Linked DNA regions of Homo sapiens: regions 1, 2, 4 and 5 are each linked to region 3. Evidence: promoter capture Hi-C in 16 types of primary human blood cells and fetal thymus (Javierre and others, 2016). All regions are on one chromosome and are shown on one strand. Each heading gives the region's core, a stretch centred on a gene start or on the middle of the fragment in contact. The rest is flanking DNA. Distances are from core to core; before and after follow the strand shown. Region 1 has its middle 23 kb from the start of CCDC68. Region 2 overlaps TCF4 (transcription factor 4). Region 3 holds the start of STARD6 (StAR related lipid transfer domain containing 6). Region 4 has its middle 5.7 kb from the start of CCDC68. Region 5 overlaps CCDC68 (coiled-coil domain containing 68).

Region 1 (2,700 bases), core at 67-2,566, 620 kb after region 3:
GTACAAGTCATTTATTTAGTAAACTTAAATTCCAGTGTGTACTCTAGGTAAACTTTCTTCTTTTATTTCAAATTTCCTGTAGCCTTCTTTTCCATCATTACCACATGTGTTACAATGTTTATTTATTGTCTGTTTTCTATTAGAATCTAGGAGCAGTTGTGGGGTCAGAGACTATGCCTATTTGGATCACTATTGAATTTCTAAGGCCCACATCAGAGAGTCAATAAATATTTGTTTAATGAACAATTATATACAGTATTTTGTCCTTTCTAGGGCCAAGTTTCCAGTTATTGGCAACTATAATAGTTCTAAACCATCTGTTTACTAACAGTGTGCTTTCTGCAAAACAAACAGATAAAACCCCATTATATAACATTTACAGATATTTATGTCTTATCACAAGGTGATTTTCAATATAATTGGAAGGGTATGCTGAGACAATCCTCCTCAATAATCTGTGTTGTAATCAATATGCCTCCTTTCCTACTATGGAGCCCCCTACCACTAAGAACAACAGACATTTAAATGTTGCTTTAAAATATGACTTTGAAAATGCTAATTTTATAATAAGCCTGAGGTTAATTTCCAGGCAGTAGCTGGATCATTAATGACAGTTTTAATTAAAAAGTAAAAGCTTAACATGTGTAGTGATCAGTAATATATCATTATTTTACTATAGACAGTAAGAATTCATAAGAAATGCCTATAGACAGAACTTGTTCTGGAACTTTATTTGTTAATATCAACTATTTACCCTTTTATTTTATGCTTTTAATAAATATAAATGAACAATAAAATGTATCATGGCATTCTCAAAGACCTCTCAATCATGTACCAAAATATTTATTATATAAGATAACATAACATTTTATCATACAAATCTCTCATGTGTCTTTATAGCGGTTTTATTATCTAACTGTGCTCCACATAACAATCCCCTCTTCAGGCTGGAGTTCTTCAATCCTAATTCACATCACTGGGAACCTTTTCTTACCACCTCTCTTCCTCGTCCACAAATTCTTATATTTTTACTCCTTGCTGTCACATAACAGTTGCATCCCAAAGCCTCCTTTTATGTCAGAGTCATCCATTTATTCTTCCTTCATTCCTTATCTACATTTCTCCAAAAAAACACACTTTAAAGGAATAGCAAGGAAAGTAAAGTATATGTTCATTTTAGAGAGATTACTTTGAATTTTCTGAAAAATCCCAGCCTGGTAGAACACAAGGTTTGTGTCCCATGTGCGGTTGCTGGCATTTTTGGTTTTGGGGTCTGCATCGAGACTTTGATTTAAGAACATAAAATGCATAAGAAAAAAAAAATTTTATCCTTTCTTTCCCCAAGTCGTTAATATGATGCCAAATGACCAGGTCATGCAATGAGATTTTTTTTGAATCGTGACAAACATCTAAATCCTTCATCCTTTGTCAGGTAATCAATGTGTTAAAACATTTAAAAATCAAATAGGAGCATAAGAATAAAAAACAGAGAAATCCTCAAGTGTGATATTTAACATCATATTGTTCGTATGATACAAGGATAACCATTCAAACAATGTGAATAACAAATATGTTATTTTTAAAACAAGAGCCCACTAACTGGAGCTTTTTTTTTTTTTAGTTGAAATAATGACTGTAGCGAATCTGGTTTTGTTTATGATAAAATTGTTAAGTATCAGATAAGGTGAATGTGGTTTTTCAGGATCCCTGTTAGAAATTTAGACAGTGCGGACAGTAAATATGACAACATGTTGCCACCTAGTGGACATTTCATAAAACGTCTAGACATCCAGGTTCCTGAAACAGTGTACGTATTTAGGATCCTGGAGTAGGGCTGAGGGGATCTTCTTAGATATTGTCTGTAGGGCTGTCTTGTTTCACACGATTAGTCTTGGCTCTAGATGTATCAAAATTTTAACTGTAAACTCAAGGACTGAAATCAGAATGTAAAATGCCTAACGTTTATTGAGCATCTATTTTGTACTAAGCTGTGTGCTAAAAGCTTTAGCTGGATTATCTCATATGAGCCTCACAGCAACCCTGTTACTACATAACCACCCGCCCTTCCTGCAGATTAAGAAACCAAGGCAGGGGCCGATTAAGTGACTCACCCAAAGTCACTGGGCCCCAAGCTGTGGAACTGAGGCATGAATGGACTACCTGCCTTCGGAGCCCAGGTCCTCGTCGGAGCAGAAACCTTCCTCAGTTTATCACAGGCAAAACATTGGGACTGGACTTCACTGTATTAAATATGGCACGTTGGGGGTGGGGGGTGATATTAAGTTCTTTACTGAATGCGTATGATCCTCGGAAGTGGCTCTAGGCTTCCAAGAAAGAAAACAAGAGGGCCAGTGTGTCCTCTCTGCTAGACTGAAGACAGCAGACACTCTTGTGGGGGGGATCTGGGCAGCTCACTCCTTTACTCCTGCCTGACAAAGCATTGCCCATTTCCAGACTCGAACTTCAGTGGTCACTGTTTAAAGGATAAAACACTGTGATCTGGGAGGGCAACCCAGAAGCTGTGAATATTTGATCTAATTAACCTATTTCTGCCTGTCATTTCTGAGAAGGACCAGCACCTCTTGATGCAGTAATAGAAAGAGTTGTACTAAGAACTAGTAAATAAAAGAATTGTCCACAAAATTGGAGCTGGAATTTGCACATGGAATGAAGAAAAGAGAGATTGTACTTTCCTCCAGT
Region 2 (2,700 bases), core at 38-2,537, 960 kb after region 3:
ACCTGACTGCAAACTTTCGCTCTAGGATCCACTCTCTAAAGCTCTGAAAGCATCTATTTTTCTACTCTGGGGGAGGAGTGGGGGGAAAAAAAGACGAAGGAGAAGAAGTAGGCAAGAAGAAGATCTTAGGATTGGCAAATGATAAATATTTCATGGCACCCAGGAAGGTGCGGCAGTCCTGCACAACTTTGCAAACAATGATCACCACCTAGGATGCTCATCCCTGCGACAATAAAACTTGTCAAAAATCCCCCTCGCAGCCCGCATTCGCTTACCGCTTTCCCATTATAGTAGTACATCAAAGAGTTGCCGCCCATGCCCGGGATTGTGTATGCGCAGTACATGGTCTCGGATTCTTTTTTCTCCTCAGTACCACTCTAACAACTTTTATTTCAAACTCGCTGTCCCTTTTTTCACAACAATTCCTTCAGTTGCATTTTCCCATATGGCCGGGCCAAGCGTGGTGAATATGCAAAGCAGGAAGAGACCATTCCTGGCGGGCGGGGGAGGCCGCGGCGCTGCTGTCAGACGCTCAACTTTGCGCAGCGGAGCTGGAAGGCAGCCCGGCCCTGATGGAGCTCGAAATCCTAATGCATACGCGAGATCGATTCAACTTTTCCGAGGGGTTTTTATTAGTTCCTCGAATAATGCCGATTCTTACAAATTTCTGCAGTCTTCACTTTTTTCTTTTTCTTTTCTTTTTTTTTTTCCTTTTTTTTTTTTTTTTTGTTTTGTTTTGTTCTAGGCACCCTTTTCTTCTCTAAAATTTCCACTCAACTGCCTTAGGGTAAAAGTGGAACAGGGTCCATTATTGAGCAGAATACAAATGCAGTTAATTGACTCCCCCTCTCTCTCTCTCCCTCTCTTTCTTTTTTGTTTTAATTTGATTAAAAAGCGAGTGGCAGGAAGGGAATCGTATGATGCACATCTAATAACTCTGCCATCTGTCTCTGCTGCTGGCTAGCTCCCAGCATTGTACGCAGCTGCCTGAGAACTCGACTCGGAGAAAGGGGAGGGAAAGGGGAGGGAAGAAAAAAAAAAAAAAAAAAAAAAAAACACCACGTCTCTGACCTCGCTCAAAAGGAGAGAGGGGGCAGTGTTTTCTGACTGCTTGGTCAACAACCTACAAAACGGGGTTGCGGAATGAAACAGAGTAGCAGTGCGGCCCGCCCCGGGCTCCGCGGGCCCCGGCCTCCCCGGAGCTGGTGGGAAGCGCGGCCGCCCATGAACTTCACCTCGCCCCGCCGCAGACAGCCGCATGGGCCCAGAGCCTACGGAGGGGCTGGGGCGCTGCTCCCCTCGCTGGCGCTGGGCGCCCCAAGGGCGCACGTTCTCCACTCTGGAGTTGGGTGCTTTCACTGTAGCTTTAGACAATCTACTGCAACTTCACGCTATTTGCTGGGCTCTAAAGCAAGTTTATTGGTACCTTCGAACCGACGAATATCTTACAGCTGTCAGTTTCCCCAAAGGCACCCCTGAGACCACATTTTCAGAGTTTTGCAGCATCCCCGCAGCCCAGTATCTGTATAAATATTTTAGCAAACATCTCATGCACATTTTTACTAAACTTCGATTTTGCTAAACTTTAAGAACGTGAAAACCTTTGTTCACCTTTATTGATCACAACTGAACAATAGAATCCTTATAGATGGCAAGGTTTCTCACAAGCAAGTTGATATATTTATTTATTGTCTTTTAAAAATATTATACCAATCAACAAAAAGGCGGGGGGAGGTACAAAAAAAGGAAAGAAAGAAAGGGAGGGATGTGGGGAGAGGAGATGGGCTGACTTGAGCTTGCCAAATTCAGAGCATCACAGGAAAGGAGGGCCTCTGGGAATTGATCCCAAATGAAACTAAATCATTTGCATATGCCGAAGCAAATGCCACCCGAGCATACATCTATTCTCAAGAATCAACTTTAATAATTCAAAGCACCTATTTCCTTACAACTCAATATGCTAACAAAACACATACAGTATTAATAAACAAGGAGGAATAGTGGTGTTGGTTCCGAGGAGCAAAGCCCGGGCTAATGGTGGAAAGTTTCCCCACTCTCTAAAATAAACACACACACACCGCACATCCACACACACGTATCGAAGGCCCAGAGGTTTGTCTAACTCACTTGCTCTGCATTTATTCGGAAGGTCCCCAGAGGTTTGTGTAAACAGTACTTGAATTATAATCACACATTTCATTCAAATTTCATGCTTTGAGGATTTTTTCCTCATTAGAACAGTTAGTTGTCAATCTGACAGGATCACATTTGTAACCTTTAAACCACCCTCACTGCTTAATACACAAGGCCAGGGTACCCACCTACCAGAGGACAGTATGTAAAAACCACCACTTAGAAAAGAGGCTGGAATTTAAAGAGATAAGTTGGGGAGTTTCCTGGTTGTTGTTTCTTTGTTGTTTCTTCCCTTATTGAGAAGGCTTTTCTAGATCCTAACTTTCCATGGGTAGACTGCTAGAAAGATCTCTAAACTCTTTTGATAAACAATCATTCTGCTTCATCTACGTTAAATACCTTTTCTTACCTATTTTGCAAACATATAAATGCCTTCCTATTAATTATGTAAATATAAACCAAATTGTCATGGCTTAATGAGCTACAATTCCTATTTTTAAAATTGAAGCTCTCATTTCTTTTAATATATTGTTAACATGTGCATAAATAAATATTTTTAATCTGATG
Region 3 (2,700 bases), core at 56-2,555:
TCATTAGGAAACATTTGCTACATATATGCCCCAAGATGAAAGAAAAATATAGTACAAAAAACTTTAAAAGATACTGTTTATAAAAAGAATCTTTAAGAAACTATTTTAAAGGAACTCAGTTTAAAAAGACACTTAGGTGGAACGTGGATACAAAAATTTAAGTTTTTAAGCTTACGTCACTAACAATTAACAAGGATTGTTAATCCCCGACCAGGGCTCGTCTTAGCATATAAAACACCGTTCTTGATTTCCTATTGGAAACCTACTTGATATTAATTGATCTAGAGACTTTGAAGATTATTGGGACATACCACTAGCAGGGTATGTCTTATTTTCAAATCACCAACTATTACTGCCACAATAGACCTGTGTTTAACCACTAAACTGAACGTTATAGCTTCCGGACTTTTTCATTTGCTAAGAGAAAAGGGAAGGTAAAATTTAGTAGGCTACAAAGGGTAAAAAGAAGAAAGTGCAAACAGTAAGACTACAATTGTATTACATGGTGGTGGAACGTCGGATGAGCTGGAACATATTCAGATGGACTCATGGTCAAGGATATCTTCACTCATAGGGTCAGTGGAAAATAAACATAAACCAACATTGGGATGGCCTCTTTTTTTGATACACCAATTGGTTGAAACTGGATTCCTTCCAGACTTACAGACAGGTTCACACATGTTAGTGAGTCTTTACATCTGTTTGTACAATGACCCTCTTTCTGAGCTGCCTGACTGGGTCCCCAATCCGTGCGGGGTCACTGCCATTCTTCCCTGGGAATCAAGGCTTCCTAGGAGTTTGTTAAATCCCATCCCTGGCTAAACTCGGGTCTCCAATCTCCCATCTGCTTTGTGTGTGAGAGGCTCCGGGGTGTGAGAGGAAAGGCACTGAAGAGGGAGTGAAAGAAGTGGTGAGGGGGGACTGCCTACTAGCTGAGACGATATCTTATTTTTGGCGGGGGATGCTCTGGAAGCGGGGAGGCTGAACTCACTTGGAAAAACTGGAGCTGTGGGGCAGACTCTCAGCGACCGGAACGACAGCCGCCAGCGCCCTTAAGTCTCCCTCCCCACCCAGTCCCCTCCCGCAGACCCCGGGGCCGGCTGAAGGGAGATCAGCAAGTCCCCGCGCAAACTGGCCGAGAATAGCTGTGACGGAGGTTGGAAGGGCGTGGGGGGCAGCGACTTGGATGCAGCCCACATCCCCCCATTCCCAGCCCCAGAAAGGAGGGAGAAACAGCACCTTCCAGCAGGGGTCGCGACCTAACGCTCAACAGCATCCTCTCTTCTCCGGCCGCTCCCTCATCTCCGCTCGCGCCCGGCGCCCCACTGCCGCGCATGCGCACCGCAGGCCGGCGCCATGTTGGGGCGGTTTGAAAGCGAGCGCGGGTGTCGAGCTCTGCTGTGACTGCGGAGGAAGCTGCGAGTGAGCCGAGCCTGAGGCGGGGCGGTGTCCGGGTTGGGGATGCTTTGTGGTGTCTCGCGTTGGGTAACAGGCCTGAGCTTTCGGCGGAGAGCTGTGGAAGTGTGCGGTTTTTGTTTTTGTTTTCCTTTATTTTTATTTTGGGGCCTTAGGGGTGAGTTAGGACGGAAAGGAGGGTGTCTTTTCGAGGGTTGTCCCATCCTGTGACAGCCGAGAAAAGGCGAAAGGAGAGTGGCGAGGAAAGAGGAGGAGACGTCTCCTGAGGGAGGGCGCTTGTGGAGTCTCTGTGGAAGGAAGAACACTGTAGGGGGAGTGCCCCCTGGGCGAGGGAGGGTCGCGGGACGCGGCGGAGGGGGCTCACACGGGCGTCTGCGGACCTGAGGCGGCGACAGGAAGGGGCTTGCGCTCTGGGGCTGTCGCTTCGGAACACTTCTCCTTCAGTCCATTGCTGCGCTCGCCCTGGCTGCTGAATAAATGGTTTCGGAGTGAAAAGCATCTCACTGAAGAACTTGTCTGTGTCTGTGACTGACGGGCGGTGGAACACCAAAGGGAGGGTGTCGCCTGATTGGGACTGGAAAAATTGGAATTCAGGGCGCCCGGGGTAGGGGAACGATGCGCACTGCTGGAGACGGGCGACCTTCGCTGGCCGGTCGGTGGGTTCCTGGTTTTCTGCTGCCGAGTAAACAAACGTTCCCTTTCCTAACTTAGCAGTCACAGAGCTATTTCCAAGAGTTGTTCTTAATTTCCTGTGCGATATTCCCATTGGCTATTTAACACTGAACATTCTGTTTTTGAATCAAAGTTAGTTAAAATTTGTTGTCAATAAGTTTAACATTCTGTTCTTCCGCGTGATGGATTTTCTTTTGGAGATTCGAACTGAAGCCTGTACGGAGGAAATGGTAAGATATATGGGATTTGCATGAGATATGTGGGGTTCAAAATAATCCTGTGGCTGAAGTGGGGAGAAGTGGGTGGGTCCCTACCCACTTTAGCTACAATTGGGGTCTGTTCAGCGATTGTTGGAAGCAGGATGATGAGTACATAGGGGTTTATTGAACGATTCTACTTTTGTATACTCTTTTGGGGAAAAGTTGGAAAACTTTTCATAATGAAACTTAAATTGTGCATTTTCTTTTTGTCTGTCCTGTGAGTTGAAATAACTAGTAAATGTTATCACCCACTTACGGAGACCAATACAACAGCTTTCTCTTTCAAGGTTTTGTAAAATAAAATCAGTAGCCTGTTCGGCATTCAAAGACAGAAAACATTTGGTCAGGCTTA
Region 4 (2,700 bases), core at 64-2,563, 610 kb after region 3:
TTCCCTTGCATTTTCTAGCCTTTTCTAGAGGCTCTCTGCATTTCTCCACTTATAGCCCCTTTCTACACCTTCAAAACCAGCAGCACATGTCCTCCTGACTCTGTCCCACTTTCACTTATAAAGACCTTTGTGATGACATTAAGACCAACTAGATGACCCAAGATAATCTCCCCATCTCAACATCCTCAACTTGATCACATCTGCAAAGTCTCTTTTCCACATAAGATAACATATTCACAGGGGCTAAGGATTAGGACATGGACTTCTTTGCAGGAGGGCATTATTCTGCCTACCATAGTTTTGTACCTAGGTCAGGTCATAATTCAAACATTAATTAGGTTTTGTTATGAAATATTTCATTTTTAAGGCACAAAATCAAGAAGGCTTTGCAAAATTATAAAGGAGGCATGCTCCCATCACTTTTTTGGTGATGCCTTTCCCTGCTTTCCCTCCTGTCCTCTCACATTCCTGTGACGTCCCCATAACGCCACCCTAAGGGGTTCCTGGTATTGGATAATTTTCCAACTTCTTCCTCCTCTCCCATACCTACCGCCTTTCTACATTTTCTGTGACTTGTGGAAAGGAAAAGGGAATGCAAATGTGGAAGTTGCAGCATTGATCTTGACAAAATTTAACTGTATGAGCCCTCCAAGTCTTGCATTTTGAGCTCCAAGCTCACGATTTAGCTGACTGCTAGGGAAAACACTCTATACCTAATGTCTCTCGCAAGCTTAGGACAAAACTCCATCTATTCTGCACAGTTCACAGCTGATATGCTAAGTGTTGGGGTCCATTTTACAATTTTAAATTTCAAAGAGTTTGCACTTTAAATGGCTAGATCACATATAAGCACATAAAAATACCTATCCATGCAATTATATAATAAGCTACAATATTTTCAAGCAATAAATCATCACTGAGTATTAGTGAAGCTACTAAGTACTAGAAAACTAAGAGAAAGTACTGATTTTAGTTGGTGTTCTAGGGAAGGCCTCAAGAGGAGGTAGGCTTGGCATTGGTTTTTGAGAATAATTACCATGTTATTCTGGGAGAGCATGGAAGCCTTTAAAGGTCAGACACAGCCAAAGGCACCAGGGCAAGTCAATTTTCAGGCAGACTGGGAATCTACCAAGTAGACCAGTCCAGCCAAACCACAGGAGACTAGTGGGAGATAAAGCAGAGAAATGTAAGCAAGCCTTGAGAAACAAACAAGAAGTACAGGAAATACATTTTTCTTGTCCATCTCTGCTAAGAGAGGAAGGGAAAACAATATTGTAGGAACTGAAACTCTGGCTATTGAATGAGTTCATTAGTAAAATAATTAGCCAATGCTTATCAACAATATGTGAATGTCTACTTATGTATACAAGTCTGTCTACACAGGTGAATCTTTTTCTAGGACTCCTTTCACATAATAGGTACAGAAACCATGACATAACCAAGAGTGATATTCAGAATATGAACCTATCGGTTGAGCAGTAGTACTGACCAACCAGAAAAGCTGCCAGCCATAATAGACAACTGGCGAGTAGGAACCCAGGTGAACCAGCAAAAAGTCAGCCCTGGACATCATTATTTAAAATGATTGCTGCTCTCTTAGCAAAACTAAATATCCTGTTGGAAATGTCTTTTCAAAGCACCCAGTTGGAGTTATTAAGTTCTGATTTCTGTAGGCATTCTTTCTGTTGATGAGCTTGGTTCACTTTATCTTAACAGTAGCTGGAATAATAAATAACACTTCCCTCTGCACTGTGAGCCCTTACCCCTGAGTAAAGAACTCATAGAGAAAGGTGAAACAAGACAAGAGGGTTGAGATGTGCATTCTAAATTCAGGTATTTCTAAGTTTGGAGGAGGGATGTGAAGCCCAGGATAAGGCTGTAGGAAGGCTGTGTTAGACAAGCTTATTGATTATAGGTAGAGACTGAATTTCAAGACTACTTGTCTTTGCTATTTGTTCACTTTCTCTGCCTTTATTCTCATGCTACCTTCAGTTGGTAAAGACAATTTCAATATTAACTTCAGAAGCTCATGTTGGTTTGTTTTTATTTCTTCAGCTGGAATAGAAGAAAGCTTACTGTATTCCCAGGCCAAACAAGATGAATTTTCTTTGATTATCCACTGTTTGAACCTGTCCACACACTGTAGTGAAAACCATACCTTTACAAAATATTTTTGCTTGTTTTTAAAGGTATTCTCTAATAGTCTATGGGATTTTGGCTTTCTATCCTTTTTGCAACAGCAGTGTTTTGGGGGATAATTGTGGTTTGATACCTATATCCCTGTTTCTTGGTTTTTGTTTTTGTTTTTTCTTTGAAATATTATCTTTCTTGATGGTTTGGTAAGTGGTTGATATCAAAATAAAAATTTTGGGAAAAGAAAAATAATGTCTTCATGTTAGCTCAAGTAATAGTGGGGAGTTAATATTAGGGTCCACATGGCAATAAGGAAGATGGAGAGCTCATCCAGGTCCCAAAGCAAGAACCCTGCAATCGCTGAGATTCCTGGAGACTGGATAAGGATGGAAGAGCTTTAGGGTTTCAGCTAGAGTCTGGGGATTCTCCCTCGAAGCTTTACCCAGCATTAATGCGGCATCTCTGCTTCTATGAGGATGGCTCCTGGTGTCTTGCCACTATTGAGTGGCTTCCTTACCCCTTGTCCTGTGACTCTTCAGTGGCCATGAAGTGTTGTGTAAAGCAGTG
Region 5 (2,700 bases), core at 56-2,555, 580 kb after region 3:
TCATAGACCTGACTATCTTTTCCTCTACAAACTTTGACAACAATAATGATCATTTAGTATTACATATATCAAAGAAGCTTCAGATCAGCACAAACAAACATCTTTTGAATCTCAAATATCAATGGGAAATTCTAGATGAAGCAGTTGACTTCTAATTTGCTGAAATTTAAACAGATTCTTATATTGAAAGAGTTAGAATGACATTTTAACTTTTATATTTTCTATAGTTTCAAATGTACTGATAAGGGCTTTTTAGGAGATAAATAATGTCCACAAGGCCAGACATTTTTTTAAAAATCTAAGTTGTGGACATAATTACATTTTGGTCACATTGCATTATAGACTAATACTGTCAGACCTAATAGTTACAATACATAATAGTCAATGTTTGGTGATGCTTCACTGTAATTACCTCATATTAAATTTCCAATCAGAGATATCAGAACTGAATGACACTGCCATTATAACCTGATGTAAGCTCTAGCTCACTGAAAATACACTTGGAACATAAATCTCATCTGGAATCGTGGACACACGGAGGTGGATAATAAATTGGAAACCACCTAACTTAAACTGTCCATTTTACAGATGTAGAAACTGAGGACCAGGGCCCAAGTTTATGCAGCAAGTGAGCGGGAGACCTCATGGCACTGCCTCTTGAATAGTTATTGTGTGCTCTTTCTGTTCTTTCAATTTATTTCAAAACTGAGAAATGATTACACAATTACACATACACTACAATTATAATAACAGCTTCTATTTGTTAAACACCTGTTATATGCCAGGTCATCTTTTAGATGTTTTATGTACAGTCCTTTGTCTGAATACTCAAAACACTGGAAGGTGCTAGGCCCTTTACACAGGTGAGGAATTTGAAGATGAGAGTTTAACTAACACACCTAAGGTTTTACCTAAAGTAACTGCCAGACCAGAATTAGAATCCCAGTTTGTTTAACAACAAAATATATGTTCTTTTCACTACAATATAATAACTATGATTGCAGAAATAAAAAACAAAAAGAACTTAGTGTATGTGGATAATATCCTCCCTCACCGTAACTCTGTCACAGTTTTGTGTTTTAGAGTCAAGACCCTAGTGCATACTTCCACTCTTCATATACAGAGTAGGAATTATTTTCTTTTTTAATTTGTTAAAGAATATTTGACAAAAAAAAAAACTCTTGAAGAAGGCAGATTATCAGCAGTGGTAGATGGCTACAAAGATCATTGATCAGTGCTTTTCAAACTTCAATGTGCCTGTGAACTACTGGGTGATAGAACTGGTTAAAAATGCAGATTCTGAATCAGGAGGTCTGGGGTAGAGCCTAGATGCGGCCTTTCTAACAAGCTCCTGGTGATGCTGAGCTGCTGGGACTGCAGACCACACTTGAGAGTAGCAAGGCCCTAGATCACTATGGTGAAATCTCTACAGGGCCAGAGGGCTGATGCTTTGATGCATGGTTGATCTGCTGACCTTCTGTGGTTTGAGGTGGCTGAGGCAGACACATGGCAACACAGTGTCGTCACCATTCCTAAGAAGCTCCTCCTATCTATGGTGGGCATTCAGTCCGCAATTTCCTTGGCCCATGGACATTATTTGACAGAGGGGTCCCGCCGTGCTTCTGAAACCCTCTCCTCATTTGCCTTCAGTGACTCCTGCTAAAGTGGCCTTGACACGAGTAACTTCAAACCATAAGAGGTCAGCAGATCAACCACACATCAAATCATCAGCCCTCTGGCCTTGTAGAGATTTTGCCATGATAATCTAGGGCCTTGCTACTCTCAACTGTGGTCTACGGTCCCAGCAGCTCAGCATCAACAGGAGCTTGTTAGAAATGCAGCATCTTGGCTCTACCCTAGAGCCCTGAAATCTCCTTCTTTTCCTCCTAATCCACCAGCCTCATCTCACCTTCCTGGGATGGTTCTTCTTCCTGATATCTAAACATTGGGAACGGTCCCCTCAAGACTCAGTCCTTAGATCTTCTCTCATTTCTCTCCACACTCACTCACTTGGTAAACTTCTCCAGTTTCAGAACTTTAAATACAATCCTCAAATGCCCAAAATCTCTACCCTGTATCCTGGACCTTCTAGCTCAGTCTTCTACCCGCAGCTCCAGAATCAGATGTCCAGCTGCCTATTAGAAGCCTCTACTTGGAGGTCTAACAGGCAGCTCAACATAGCCCAAACTGAATTTTTTAATCTTCCCTATCATTCCTAAACATAACCTTGTTTTCTAGTTTAGAAGTATTTTAAATAATAATTGAAGCTAGTTATGTTAGTGTGGGAGGCTGAGGGTGATGAAAATGACTACATTTATGCATTATACCCCACGTTCTGGTGGACTCTGTGGCCATGCCTATAGTGGACAACACTGATTAAGTACACTTGGCTCAGATGTGGTTTAGCTTGGTGTAATCCAGACAAGGCTAAGTGCAGATTGCTCGACCTTAGGTATATACAGCTGATGTTGGGGAAGGGAGTGCATTCAAACTTATCAACTATCTAACAAAGTCTTGACTCAACTCAGGCCTAAAAGCTTCAACTGTATGTGTCTATTCATGTGGCCCACGTGAGTCTAAAAGCTCTGCCTGTCATTGGGAAATGTTGCTGTCATGGATCTTGGCTGGGCCAACATCTTCTCATTTACTTTCGATAAGTAAGCCTTGTTTAATATATTCAAGTAAGGCCTAGCCATTCCA

Evidence for each region. The method cuts DNA at HindIII sites, captures the fragments that hold promoters and counts their contacts. A CHiCAGO score of 5 or more calls a contact.
Region 1: a contact is called between a fragment that was not itself captured here and the fragment with the promoter of STARD6 in region 3, in 7 of 17 cell types (activated CD4 T cells, naive CD4 T cells, total CD4 T cells and 4 more). The highest score is 7.0, in activated CD4 T cells.
Region 2: a fragment that was not itself captured here is called in contact with the fragment with the promoter of STARD6 in region 3 in 1 of 17 cell types (monocytes); the score reaches 5.3 in monocytes.
Region 4: a fragment that was not itself captured here is called in contact with the fragment with the promoter of STARD6 in region 3 in 5 of 17 cell types (M1 macrophages, erythroblasts, M0 macrophages and 2 more); the score reaches 10.5 in M1 macrophages.
Region 5: a fragment that was not itself captured here is called in contact with the fragment with the promoter of STARD6 in region 3 in 1 of 17 cell types (non-activated CD4 T cells); the score reaches 5.0 in non-activated CD4 T cells.

What each region holds. Positions count from the first base shown.
Region 1 is chr18:54,981,509-54,984,208 of GRCh38, forward strand. No RefSeq gene overlaps it. Among named protein-coding and RNA genes, the nearest start is that of CCDC68, 23 kb to the left of the region's middle. The HindIII fragment of the contact is 1,368 bases long and covers 633-2,000 here.
Region 2 is chr18:55,321,395-55,324,094 of GRCh38, forward strand. The region is part of intron 8 of TCF4 (transcription factor 4); the gene reads right to left. Among named protein-coding and RNA genes, the nearest start is that of TCF4-AS1, 130 kb to the right of the region's middle. RefSeq lists a silencer at 1,014-1,393. The HindIII fragment of the contact is 2,973 bases long and covers 1-2,700 here.
Region 3 is chr18:54,356,553-54,359,252 of GRCh38, forward strand. STARD6 (StAR related lipid transfer domain containing 6) reads right to left here and starts at 1,306. Exons shown (of 8, transcript NM_139171.2): 1 at 1,240-1,306. C18orf54 (chromosome 18 open reading frame 54) reads left to right here and starts at 1,354. Exons shown (of 9, transcript NM_001288980.2): 1 at 1,354-1,523; 2 at 2,222-2,318. RefSeq lists enhancers at 1,858-2,369, 1,871-1,940. The HindIII fragment of the contact is 3,120 bases long and covers 169-2,700 here.
Region 4 is chr18:54,963,798-54,966,497 of GRCh38, forward strand. No RefSeq gene overlaps it. Among named protein-coding and RNA genes, the nearest start is that of CCDC68, 5.7 kb to the left of the region's middle. The HindIII fragment of the contact is 1,171 bases long and covers 729-1,899 here.
Region 5 is chr18:54,938,118-54,940,817 of GRCh38, forward strand. All of the region lies in intron 4 of CCDC68 (coiled-coil domain containing 68), which reads right to left. Among named protein-coding and RNA genes, the nearest start is that of CCDC68, 20 kb to the right of the region's middle. The HindIII fragment of the contact is 2,460 bases long and covers 76-2,535 here.